Linked DNA regions of Homo sapiens: all the other regions are linked to region 1. The links are contacts of gene promoters, found by promoter capture Hi-C in blood cells and fetal thymus (Javierre and others, 2016). All regions are on one chromosome and are shown on one strand. The core of a region is centred on a gene start or on the middle of the fragment in contact, and the rest is flanking DNA. Distances in the headings are between cores, read along the strand shown. Region 1 holds the start of CLEC2L (C-type lectin domain family 2 member L). Region 2 overlaps KDM7A (lysine demethylase 7A). Region 3 overlaps PARP12 (poly(ADP-ribose) polymerase family member 12).

Region 1 (3,723 bases), core at 488-2,987:
ATTAGCAGAAATTTGGTAGGCAAACTAGGGTGCATGGGGGCTACAAGGAGGGGTTAGAAGGACCAAGGAGGAGATGTGTTCCAGGCAGAAGGAAGACAGTGTTCAAAGGCCCAGAGGAAAGAGTCAGAATAGTTAGGTGTGTCTAGGGCTGGCAGAGAAGGGGTGGGAGGAGAGGATGCCTTAGGTAGGAGCAGGACTTTGACCATGAGGGACCTTGAGGCCTTGTAAAAAGATGGCCTTAATCCACAGGTAAAGGGACCCCTGAAGGAGTGGTGAGTTTGCACTTTAGGTAGATGCTGCGGGTGTGGAGGGGGAGGGGCTGGATAGGAGGGAGCAAGAGTGGAGGATGGGAGACCCCTTAGAAGGCTGCTGCTGTGGTCGGGCAAGAGAAGGCATTGGCTTGTACTTGGCCAGTGGCTAGAGGGATGGAGTGCAATGCGCAGACTAAGAGTTTAAAAGGGGCCGGGCGGCCGGGCGCGGTGGCTCACGCCTGTAATCCCAGCACTTTGGGAGGCCGAGGCGGGCGGATCACGAGGTCAGGAGATCGAGACCATCCCGGCTAAAACGGTGAAACCCCGTCTCTACTAAAAATACAAAAAAATTAGCCGGGCGTAGTGGCGGGCGCCTGTAGTCCCAGCTACTTGGGAGGCTGAGGCAGGAGAATGGCGTGAACCCGGGAGGCGGAGCTTGCAGTGAGCCGAGATCCCGCCACTGCACTCCAGCCTGGGCGACAGAGCGAGACTCCGTCTCAAAAAAAAAAAAAAAAAAAAAAAGGGGCCGGGCACGGCAGCTCACGCCTGCAATCCTAGAACTTTGGGAGACCCAGGTGGGAGGATCGCTTGAGCCTGGGAGGCCGAGGCTGTAGTGACACTGCACTCCAGCCTGGGCTACAGAACGAGACCCTGTCTCAAAAAATAAAAATAAAAATATTTTAAAAGGGAGAATTCACAAGAGTCAGTGGCCTATTGGATTTGGGGGAGGGAGCAGGAGGAGCTGGGGATGAGGAACTGAAGATGGAGACAGGAACCAGAGGTTGGGGCTGAGAATGGTGGAGGGGGAAGAGGATCAGGGCTGGAGGCGTGGGGCTTCAGGCGACGCGAGGTCAGCTGAGGCAAGGGGCCAGTGAAGGCTCCGGAGGGAGCCCTGGCCTGGGAGTCAGACACCCGCCAAGCACGCACCTGCCTGGCGCCGCCTTCGGAAATGTCCTTGACCTCAAAATTCCACTTCTCAGCCTCACCTGGGGGCATTGTCAGCTAATAATATGTGAAAGTCCCTGGCGCTTAGTAGGTGCTCAATAAATGTTAATTGAATCTGCAACGTCACTTCGCTTGCTCCTTTAGACTCTACTGTCTCTGTGCTCATCGTTCGGACGTTTCTCTCCTTTATCAAGAGTTTGGGGGTCAAGTCACAGCCCCTACCACCCTCTGCTGTGGCTCCAGGGCAGCCGGGAAGAAAGGCGCTCATCTTCCCTGAGCCTCCCTGCACTGTCCCCGCGAACTTTATTCCCATTTTCACAGATGGTGAGCAGGCGGCTGGGGAGATGGAGCTGAGTTAGAACCAGGTCTCCCGGCTCCAAGACTGCGCTCCCAGCTCGACAGCATCCAGCCTCCAGCCCAGGTGGCGGGGTCGGGGAGCCGGCTGTCCCCGCTCCTCCGCGCCTCCTCCCTCTCCGCCCCTGCCCCGCCCCGCCCGGGTCCACGGCTCCCGGCTCCCGCGCGCCGCCTCGCGCTCCTCCCCAGCCCGGCTGTGCGTGGAGGCTGCGGCTCGGCGGGGCAGGCGCTGAGCGCACCGCGGCGGCACCCGGCGCAGAGGCTCCAGCGCGGGGAGCCGGGCTCAGCCCCGGCCTGCCAGCGCCGCGGTCCTAGCCCACCCGAGGCCGGCCTGGGGGGCCCGCAGGGCGCGCGGAGCGCCGAGTGCGCGTCGGGCTGGGCCCCGCACCCCGGTGCAGGAGCGCGGGCGCGGCGCGGCGGAGCGCCCCGCATGGAGCCGGCCCGGGAGCCCCCCTCGCGGGCCCGGCCGCCGCCGCCCCTCGCCGCGCGCCCCGCGCCCGCCCCCGCCGCCCCCAGGCCGCGTTCGCCCGCAGAGGCTGAGGCCCGCGGCCCCGAGGGGCTGCTGCGGCGATCCGGGTCGGGCTACGAGGGCAGCACCAGCTGGAAGGCGGCCTTGGAGGGTAAGCGCGGAGCGGCCTCCCTCTCCTGGCCCAGGGACCCCTGCCCAGGCCCGACCCGCGACCCGGAGGCGGTCAGAGTCACCTTGGCCGCTGTCCCGGAGGGGAGCGCTGGGAGCGCGGCGCCGGGACGCGGCGGAGTCATTCATTTCAGGGCGGCCAGACGCCGGTTCGTGGGGTGGGGTGGGAGGGAACCGGGGGCCACCGCGAGTCACAGCCTCGACCCCGCCTCTGCTGCGACTCCCTCTCTGACCTTGGAGCGGGCTTCACGCTCTGAGCCTTCGTCTCCTCACGCATGAAGGGGACAAACACTGCCTGACACCCACCAGACAGGCGTGTTGAGAGGGTGGCGGAATCTGTGGTCGTGAACACGCTTCGAGTAAAGTAAGAAAGCTGGAGACCCCAGAGGTGGTGCCCGCCCCTGTGAGAGCCGCGGGGACCCCGTGGTGGTGGGGCATGTGGGGAGGGCAGGGCAGGGCAGGGGTGGAGAATCCAGGAGAGGCTCTTCCTTGCAAGGTCAGGGGTCACACCTACTCCTCCATCAGACTGCCTCAGGGAGGGACCCCTGGCCTGCCTCCGGGGCAGTAACCCAAGTAGAGAATTGATTTCAAGTTCATGAGCTCTTTAAGGAAACTTGTATTAGCTACCGCCGGCGGCGTGTGGTGTGGGAGATGCAGGAGTTGGTGAGAGGGTGGCTGGCCCTTTGGGTGCTTCTCAGGGTGCTCCTGGCACCCTGAATCCAAGGACAAGGAGGACCTGGGCAGCATTAACTAGGGAAGCCTGGAGCCTGGATCACCCATCCTTAGGGAGGCAGTGTCAGAAAAGGAGGGCTTCCCAGGAGTAGGTGACCTCTTAGCAGGCGTGGAGACAGAGGGGAAGGTGTTCCAGACCCAGAGCATGACGTATCCCAGGCCAGGTGGTCAGAGCTACTCTGTGCCACGTGGGAACTGAGCCCTGGAGTACTGAGATGGGGCAGGGTGGAGAGAGACGGGCCTGAAGGACCCAGACGGTGAAGGGCCAGCCAGGCCTTGCCCAGGAGCTTGGACTTTGTTCTGAAGGGGCTACTGAGGGGTGGAGATGGTGGGCTTGCCCTTGGAAGACTGGTGGTGGCCCAGAGGGGTGGGACCCAGGCTCGAGGTCAGGGAGGGGGTGGGGCAGTGGACCAGGAGGGACATAACCAGCAGCTGGGCCAAGGCAGGTCATGGGGCTGCTGAGGATGGCGAGGTGGGGATGGTAATGCCAGCCTTCTGCACAAAGGCTATGGGCCAGGGGACGTGCACTGTCCGAGGAAGGGCTGTGCAGACTCTGAAGCTGGACCACCAGACAGTGGCAGGGACAGAGGAGGCGAAGATGTTGCGTCACCAAGGAGAAGAGCTGTAGCAGAGCTGTGGGTTGTGAAGAGTTGTGTGGAATGGATGGAGGTGGTCAGACACCCCCCCGTGACGCTGTCTCCGGCTTTACTGTTGGAGTGGCCCTGTGTTCCCACGCTTCACTCCTGCCAAAGCTATTTCTTGAAGTTGTTCCCTCCTCTTGCCTGTATTTCTTCATTCATTTAT
Region 2 (3,723 bases), core at 568-3,067, 600 kb after region 1:
TCACTCTGGGTCACAGATGAACTCCAAGATTCATAACGTGCCAAATTTTCATCTGTTGGCTTTATTAAATAAAAAATCTTCTCACCCTAAAAGGAAGTATCATACTATTTTTGAAAAAGCAAAAGCCATACTTAGGATAGCCTACATTGATGCAATTTCTCAATACAATGATACAAATTAAATTGGATAATTATCAGATTCTTTTAGGTTCAAAAGACATATTTCACACACCTGATCAGTAGCTATTGCCCTTAGTAAACATTTTCATGTTTAAAGCTCCCCCTCCTCAACTGACAAGGAGTCAATAAAGTAGTGTTGAAGAAATAGCTGCAAGACAGGAGGGCAGAGAAGCACAAACATCCCACTGACCTCCTCTCATTGTCAAATAGAGAAGTAAATATGTGTTGACAGGCCCACAGTCATCTCTGCAAGCTTTGCCCTTTCTACTAAGATCCACAGCATAATTATTTTTAAAAACCTATAAATAAGCTTCCTTTAATAAACTAATTCTTTGCTACTTCATGAAGGAAAAAAACAGGAACCCAAGGACCCAGCAACAAATATAGCCCAGAACATTGCTGAGGCACAAGCATTTGATATAGATGAAGACTGACTTTCTACATCAGTACTCTCCAATACAACTTTCTGTGCTGATGGAAATTTTTTGTATCTGTGCTAACCAACACAGTAGCCATTAGCCACATGTGGCTACTGAGCACTTGAAATGTGCCTAGTATAAACGAGGAACTGAATTTTTAATTACATTCCATTTTAATTATTTAAATTTAGTCACACATGGCTAGTGGCAACTGTTTTGAACAATGCAGCTCTAGATAAAGCAAGGTGAATATAAATTGCAAATAACTGGTCTTTTGTTTTGTTTTTTTGAGATAGGGTCTCGCTCTGTTGCCCAGGCTGGAGTGCAATGGTGCAATCACAGCACACTGCGCCCTCAACTTCCTGGGCTCAAGTGATCCTCCTGCCTCAGCCTCTTGAGTAGCTGCGACTACAGGCATGAGCCACCACACCTGGCTAATTTTTTAATTTTTACTTTTAGAGACAGGTTCTTGCTCTGTTGCCCAGGCTGGAGTGCAGTGGAGTGATCACGGCACACTGCAGCCTCAACTTCCTGGGCTCAAGTGATCTTCCTGCCTCAGCCTCTTGAGTAGCTGTGACTACAAGCATGAGCCACCATGCCTGGCTACTTTTTTTATTTTTATTTTTAGAGACAGGATCTCGCTCTGTTGCCCAGGCTGGAATGCAGTGGTGCAATCACAGCACACTGTAGCCTCAACTTCCTGGGCTCAAGTGATCCTCCTGCCTGAGCCTCTTGAGTAGCTGTGACTACAGGAATGAGCCACCATGCCTGGCTAATGTTTTTATTTTTATTTTTAGAGACAGGGTCTCACTATGTTGCTCAGGCTGGTCTTGAACTCCTGGGCTCAAATAATTTTCCCAGCTTGGCCTCCTCTCAAAGCGCTGGGATTATAGGTGTAAGCCACTACACCCAGCCAAGAACTGGTATTTTTATAGGCATTCCTGACTTATCCAACAAGCTATCCTAGCCCAACATTAAGGCCAGAAGCAATTATTACTGTAATTTTGCTCCTTCACAGATATTTAATTCAGGGATTAAAGGATAATTAACTAGGGGAAAAAAAATCAAGAAGAGACAAAAGCCTAAAAGAAACCAACTTAAAAGATGAGGGCAGAAAGTAAATCTAATATAAATTTAAAAGTCATGGCTCTTCCATTATTTGAGATTAAAAAAAAAAATCGTAACGTTTAAAGGCAAAGTGACAGTTCCTGGTTAAAAAGTAAAAAAAAAAAAAAAAACTTCCCCCTTTACAAGTAACATTTACAAGAAATGAATATACCACTGAAAAACTAGGGCTATATGTTTTTGTCAGTGAGAGAACAAAAAATACCCCAATCTTACCCAGAGGACATGGTACCAGACTGAAGTTCCACCGAAGTCAATGTGGAAATCTGTATAGCTGTCTTGAACTCCCATTAAGCAATATTTCTGAACAAATGGCTTGGGAAAGACTGAATCATCTGGCCAATAATTTTCCACCCAGGAAAGTTTTTTGGCTATATCAGGGACCTCCACCAATTCAGACATCCTTTCAAAAAACAAACATACACACACACCCACATCATGCAAATTAAAAATTCTTAAGAATTGTTTTTCTCATCTATTCCCAAACCAAATAATTAAATGGAACTTAAGGTTAACAACAACACTTAAAAGTTTAAAACACATGTTTGTTTGTTTTTGAGACAGAGTCTTGCTCTGTCGCCTAGGCTAGAGTGCAGTGGCGCGATCCTGGCTCACTGCAAACTCCATCCTGCCGGGTTCGAGAGATCTCGTGCCTCAGCCTCTCTGAGTAGCTGGGATTACAGGCATGTGCCACCATGCCCAGCTGATTTTTGTATTTTTAGTAGAGAGGGGGTTACGCCATGTTGGCCAGGCTGGTTTTGAACTCCTGGCCTCAAGCGATCCACTCGCCTTGGCCTCCCAAAATGCTGGGATTAAGGCATAAGCCACTGTGCCCAGCCAAAAGTTTAAAATACATCTTATTTCTAAGTATCTCTGAGTGTCCCAATGCAAAATTTATAACATTGCTACCACTGGACAACTTTAGAAGTCACAACTATGTTTCTTCCTAAAATAAATACATCATTACACTACATTTAGCTAACACTCAGAATGCTAAACCAAAATACCCAGAACTACTCACTTTGTATCTGAAAATTCAAGGCTGATCACATTTAACACTTTTGGTCTGTTAGGATTCATGAAGTATTTAACATAATTGTGAAGTGTCATTTTGCTGTCTGCCTGCCTCGCCACATCAATGACATCTATCACTTTGTCACCACCTGCAGAGAAAAATTACAGTCTTATTATTGGACTTAAGAGTTACATCAGCAGATGCTCTAATCAAAAAATATTTTAACTTGGTATGATAATTAAACCAACTATAAAACTATGTAGTCTAGACAAATATTTTCCCTATACTCTTAATTTCTCAAGTTCAACTGGACCTTTCAGGAAAAAAGGGACATTTTTCAGAGGAAAAGGAAAGCAGTAAGACAGAGCTGCACAATTTACACTGAATATAAAAGTGTATATGGCTTACAAAGCTTTCTGTATACTAATGATATCTTGGTGTACAGCTCATAATGACAAAAAAATACATTATATTGGCATGTAGAAATTGTGCAACACTGTCTGGATTTCAGTTTTCTCAGGCATAAAATGAGGAGACTGACTTTTCCCTTTCACTTTTGTAACACCTAAAATATTCTAAGGCTATCATTTCAAAAAAAAACACATCACTCATTGGGGAATTAGCATGCAAGTTGACCAGGATAATTTCTGCCCTCCTGATACTGTCTTCTAATATTCTCCTTTAAGAAAAAATTAGTGATTGGGAAGCAAAAATCAGTTCACATTAGTACCAGTGTCCGAAGGCCTGAGTTCCAAATTGTGATTAATTTACAGTTTTCGTATAAACCCATGAAGTGGTGTTTACAGACCACTGCACTGCTACACTAGGAAGCATAATTAGTTTGACAATGGACTATGGGATAAGGTAGAATTCAAAATATGGCAATACTTAACCAATCTGAAATAGAAAACAAATAAATGCCATTTTCTTACTTTAATGCAACTTCATATAGGTTAAGAAAGTCTTGCCTTATAGACTTCTTTAT
Region 3 (3,723 bases), core at 402-2,901, 520 kb after region 1:
TTTTGTTATTTGGCTTGGATTCCAAACCTATACATGATATAAATCAATTTTCTTATATTTGCCTACCTTCTGTAAAGTTGCAGAAATGGCAGACAACCAGTTTGAAAAGCCTTTACCTCTATATCACAGCTACACAAACACACTTGCACACATAGGCACCAGCTGTGGGGTTAAGTTACCTGTTCAACAAGAGAAACATCTTTCTATCCCATTTAATAAAACCAATGAAGAAACTTGATCTCACTACAAATTTGTCATTCAGTTCTCATGAGCCAACAGATGGAAGCTCTTCAAAGATGAAAGCTCATACAAATAAATTCCAACTTATCTAGTTTTGCCATAATTCTCCCAAAGCAAGTGAGCCACACTGGCACCTGGGGATCCTCAGCTCTCTCAAGGATGCCCCTGGCAACAATATGGGGGCTCTTATTTGGCTCCTCTCTTACAGATCCTCAGGACAAAACATTCACCCTCTTTCCATCACACTTACCTGTCTTCCATATTCCTGCCAAGAACCAAACTCATCACTCCAGTACCAAATCCAGTCAGTGGTGAGGATGAAGTGTGGAGGTTTGGTGACAGAGGAGGCCGTGGAGAGGCGGCGAGCCTGGGTAGCACCGTAAGTCATGGCGTTAAAGTTCAGACAATGAGAGTGAAAGGTACTGGCTGACTCAGAGCACAGGATCCTACAGAAGAAAAACAGCAGCAGACTGAAAATCCCACCAGCCAAGCAGACACAGGTCCCTCAGCTTGAGAACATATAGCTGGGAGATGCGAATAGTAAATGTGGCATGCACATTTTAGAAAAAGTTCCCAGAGGTAGAGGAAACTGCTTTTTCAGATCAGTTTTGAGGTATAAAAATATCAAAATCAAGATAATGTGGGAGACTAGTTATGACGAAAATTCCTCTCAGTACAAAATGCCGAAGATGCTGGTGAAATCATTCTTTTTTAAAATTCACTGCTGAGCTGGCAAGAAAGGGAAGTCCTCAGAAGCCAAAAATAACAATAGTTAACATATACTGAGTGTTTACTGTGTGAGCCAGACCCTGCATTAAGCACTTTATATGTATTAGGCGATGACATTTTCACAACCCTATGAGGTTGAGACTATTATCTCCACTTCACAGACGGGAAAACAGAAGCTCAGGAAGGTGAAGAAACCTGTTCAAGGTCAAACAGCTAGTCAGCGGGCGAGCTGGGCTTTCAGGTGGGCAGGTGGGCTGCACAGCCTGCACCTGAGCCACCAGGACACGCTCCCTTTCTAAACGCAGTACTGCCTAAAGACCAAAGGAAGGTACGAAACTGGAGAGCGGAGAGGAGGGCGAGAGCCAGCAGCTATCCCAGGGCAGTATCGATGAGTAACGACAGAGAGCCTGGGCTTTGGCCGCAAAAGGGAAGCAGGAAACAAATGTAGGGTCTGAGTACGGCAGGAGGCTGAATCTCAAAAGAGATACCTCTGCGTAAAACCAGGACCCTAAAAGATGACCCACCTTAGTAAAGGGGGACTGGAGAGGGGACTTGCCTTGCAAAGACATCTGGCAAGGAAACCTGCCTGTATTAATGTTGGTTCTGGATAAAGGAGGAAAAAATTCCTCTGAGAACTCATAAACCACTCAAGCCTCACAGAAGTTTTAGACTGATTCACATTTTGGGAGAATTAGCTGCAAAGACCACCCAGGGTAGCAGTTCTCAGAGAAGCAAACACACATCCCCTCTGGAGAAATTCACCTTCAACTCAGGCCTCAAAAGAATTTCTTGGCCGGGCATGGTGGCTCACGCCTGTAATCCCAGCACTTTGGGAGGCCAAGGCAGGTGGATCATGAGGTCAGGAGATCGAGACCATCCTGGCTAACACAGTGAAACCCCGTCTCTACTAAAAATACAAAAACTAGCCGGGAGTGGTGGCGGGCACCTGTAGTCCCAGCTACTCAGGAGGCTGAGGCAGGAGAATGGCATGAACCCAGGAGGCGGAGCTTGCAGTGAGCTGAGACCGCACCACTGCGCTCCAACTTGGGCGACAGAGTGAGACTCCATCTCAAAAAAAAAGAATTTCCAAAGAAATTTCCATCAAATCAAACATGAGCTCAAAATCGATCACAAAATGTGGAAACAAAGACACTATGAGCAAAAGTTAACAAAAACAAAATCAGACCACCCTGAACTATAAACATTAGTATTCTCAGATGCAGATATACGTGATATGTTTTTTAAAAAGGAATTGAGCATCAAAAGTATGAGTAAGAATCAAGAGACTATAAAAACTGACTGGGTAAATTTAAGGAAAAAAACAGAACTTTTACTATTCATTATTCTTTTCTTTCTCCTCCACTCCCTCCAAAACTTTTTTTCTTTTCCTTTTTTACTACTTTTTTTTAATTTTTTATTTTTTGAGACAGAGTCTCACCCTGTCACCCAGGCTGGAGTGCAGTGGCATCATCTCAGCTCATCGTGATCTCCGCCTCCCGGATTCAAGCGATTCTCCTGTCTCACCCTCCCGAGGAGTAGCTGGGATTACAGGCATGCACCACCACGCCCAGCTAATTTTTGTATTTTTTTGTGCAGACAGAGTTTCACCATGTTGGCCAGGCTGGTCTTGAACTCCTGGCCTCAAGCCATCCGCCCTCCTCAGCCTCCCAAAGTGCTGGGATTACACGCGTGAGCCACTGCTCCCGACCTTAGAACTTTTAAACATAATTAAATTAACTGAAATTTAAAAATCATACTTCGATGGGACACACTGCATCTCAGAAGAGTCTGAACTAATGAACTGAGAGCCTGAGAGGAAGAAATGTGGCAGAGTTTAGAAAGAGAATAAAAGAGAAGTTAGAAGACATAAAAGATAAAGTGAGAAGACTTCACCATATATCTAATGAGAATTCCAGAGAAGGAATACTTAAGGAGATCATGGCTGAGGAAATCAGAAAGCACAGCAAAATATGAGTAGCATAAATTTTTTTAAATCCACACACAGATTTTAGTGAAACTGCACAGCACCAAAGAATGACAAGATATTAAAAACAGCCAGAGAGAAAAAAACAGACTATCTATTATACTGGATTGAATTGTGTCCCCAAGAAGATATGCTGAAGGTCTAATCCCTGGTACCCATGAATGCGATCTTATTTGGAAATAGGGTCTTTGCAGATATAATCAAGTTAAGATGAGGTCATATTGGATTCGGGTGGGCCCTAATCCAAAACTGATGTCCTTTTAAGACGAGGGAAATTTGAACACAGACACATGGGGAAATGCCTGTGACAATGGAGGCTGAGATTGGAGTGACGCGTCTACAAGCCAAGGCATGCCAAGGATTTCTAAGCATCAGAATCCTGGAGGAGGCAAGAAAGGATCCTCCTGTAAAGCCTTCAGACAGAGCAAGGCCCTGCTAACACCTTCAGTTTGGACTTCTAGCCTCCAGAACCGAGAAAATAAATTTCTGTTGTTTGAAGCCATCAAGTTCATGGTAATTTGTTACAGCAGCCCTAAGAAGTGAACTAATACCACCTCGATTTAGGCTGATAGCTAACTTCTAAGTAGAAGCAATGGAATCCAGACAACAATGAAATAGTCTTTGAAGAACTGAGGGAAAATACCCAGTAAAACTATCTTTCAAGAATGAGAAGGGAATAAAAACCCTTTCAGACTAACAAAATACACAATTACCTCCAGACTCTCATTAAAGCAACCTCCAACAGAGGAACTTAAAGAAAGAAAATGATA

The links. The method cuts DNA at HindIII sites, captures the fragments that hold promoters and counts their contacts. A CHiCAGO score of 5 or more calls a contact.
Region 2: a contact is called between a fragment that was not itself captured here and the fragment with the promoter of CLEC2L in region 1, in 1 of 17 cell types (monocytes). The highest score is 7.9, in monocytes.
Region 3: a fragment that was not itself captured here is called in contact with the fragment with the promoter of CLEC2L in region 1 in 1 of 17 cell types (monocytes); the score reaches 6.3 in monocytes.

What each region holds. Positions count from the first base shown.
Region 1 is chr7:139,521,948-139,525,670 of GRCh38, forward strand. CLEC2L (C-type lectin domain family 2 member L) reads left to right here and starts at 1,738. Exons shown (of 5, transcript NM_001080511.4): 1 at 1,738-2,170. The coding sequence starts at 1,981. The HindIII fragment of the contact is 20,495 bases long and covers 1-3,723 here.
Region 2 is chr7:140,124,698-140,128,420 of GRCh38, forward strand. It overlaps KDM7A (lysine demethylase 7A), which reads right to left. Exons shown (of 20, transcript NM_030647.2): 5 at 2,745-2,886; 6 at 1,940-2,126; 7 at 1-86. Among named protein-coding and RNA genes, the nearest start is that of KDM7A, 50 kb to the right of the region's middle. RefSeq lists an enhancer at 669-1,169. The HindIII fragment of the contact is 2,661 bases long and covers 488-3,148 here.
Region 3 is chr7:140,041,154-140,044,876 of GRCh38, forward strand. PARP12 (poly(ADP-ribose) polymerase family member 12) reads right to left here. Exons shown (of 12, transcript NM_022750.4): 6 at 491-686. Among named protein-coding and RNA genes, the nearest start is that of PARP12, 20 kb to the right of the region's middle. The HindIII fragment of the contact is 4,259 bases long and covers 1-3,723 here.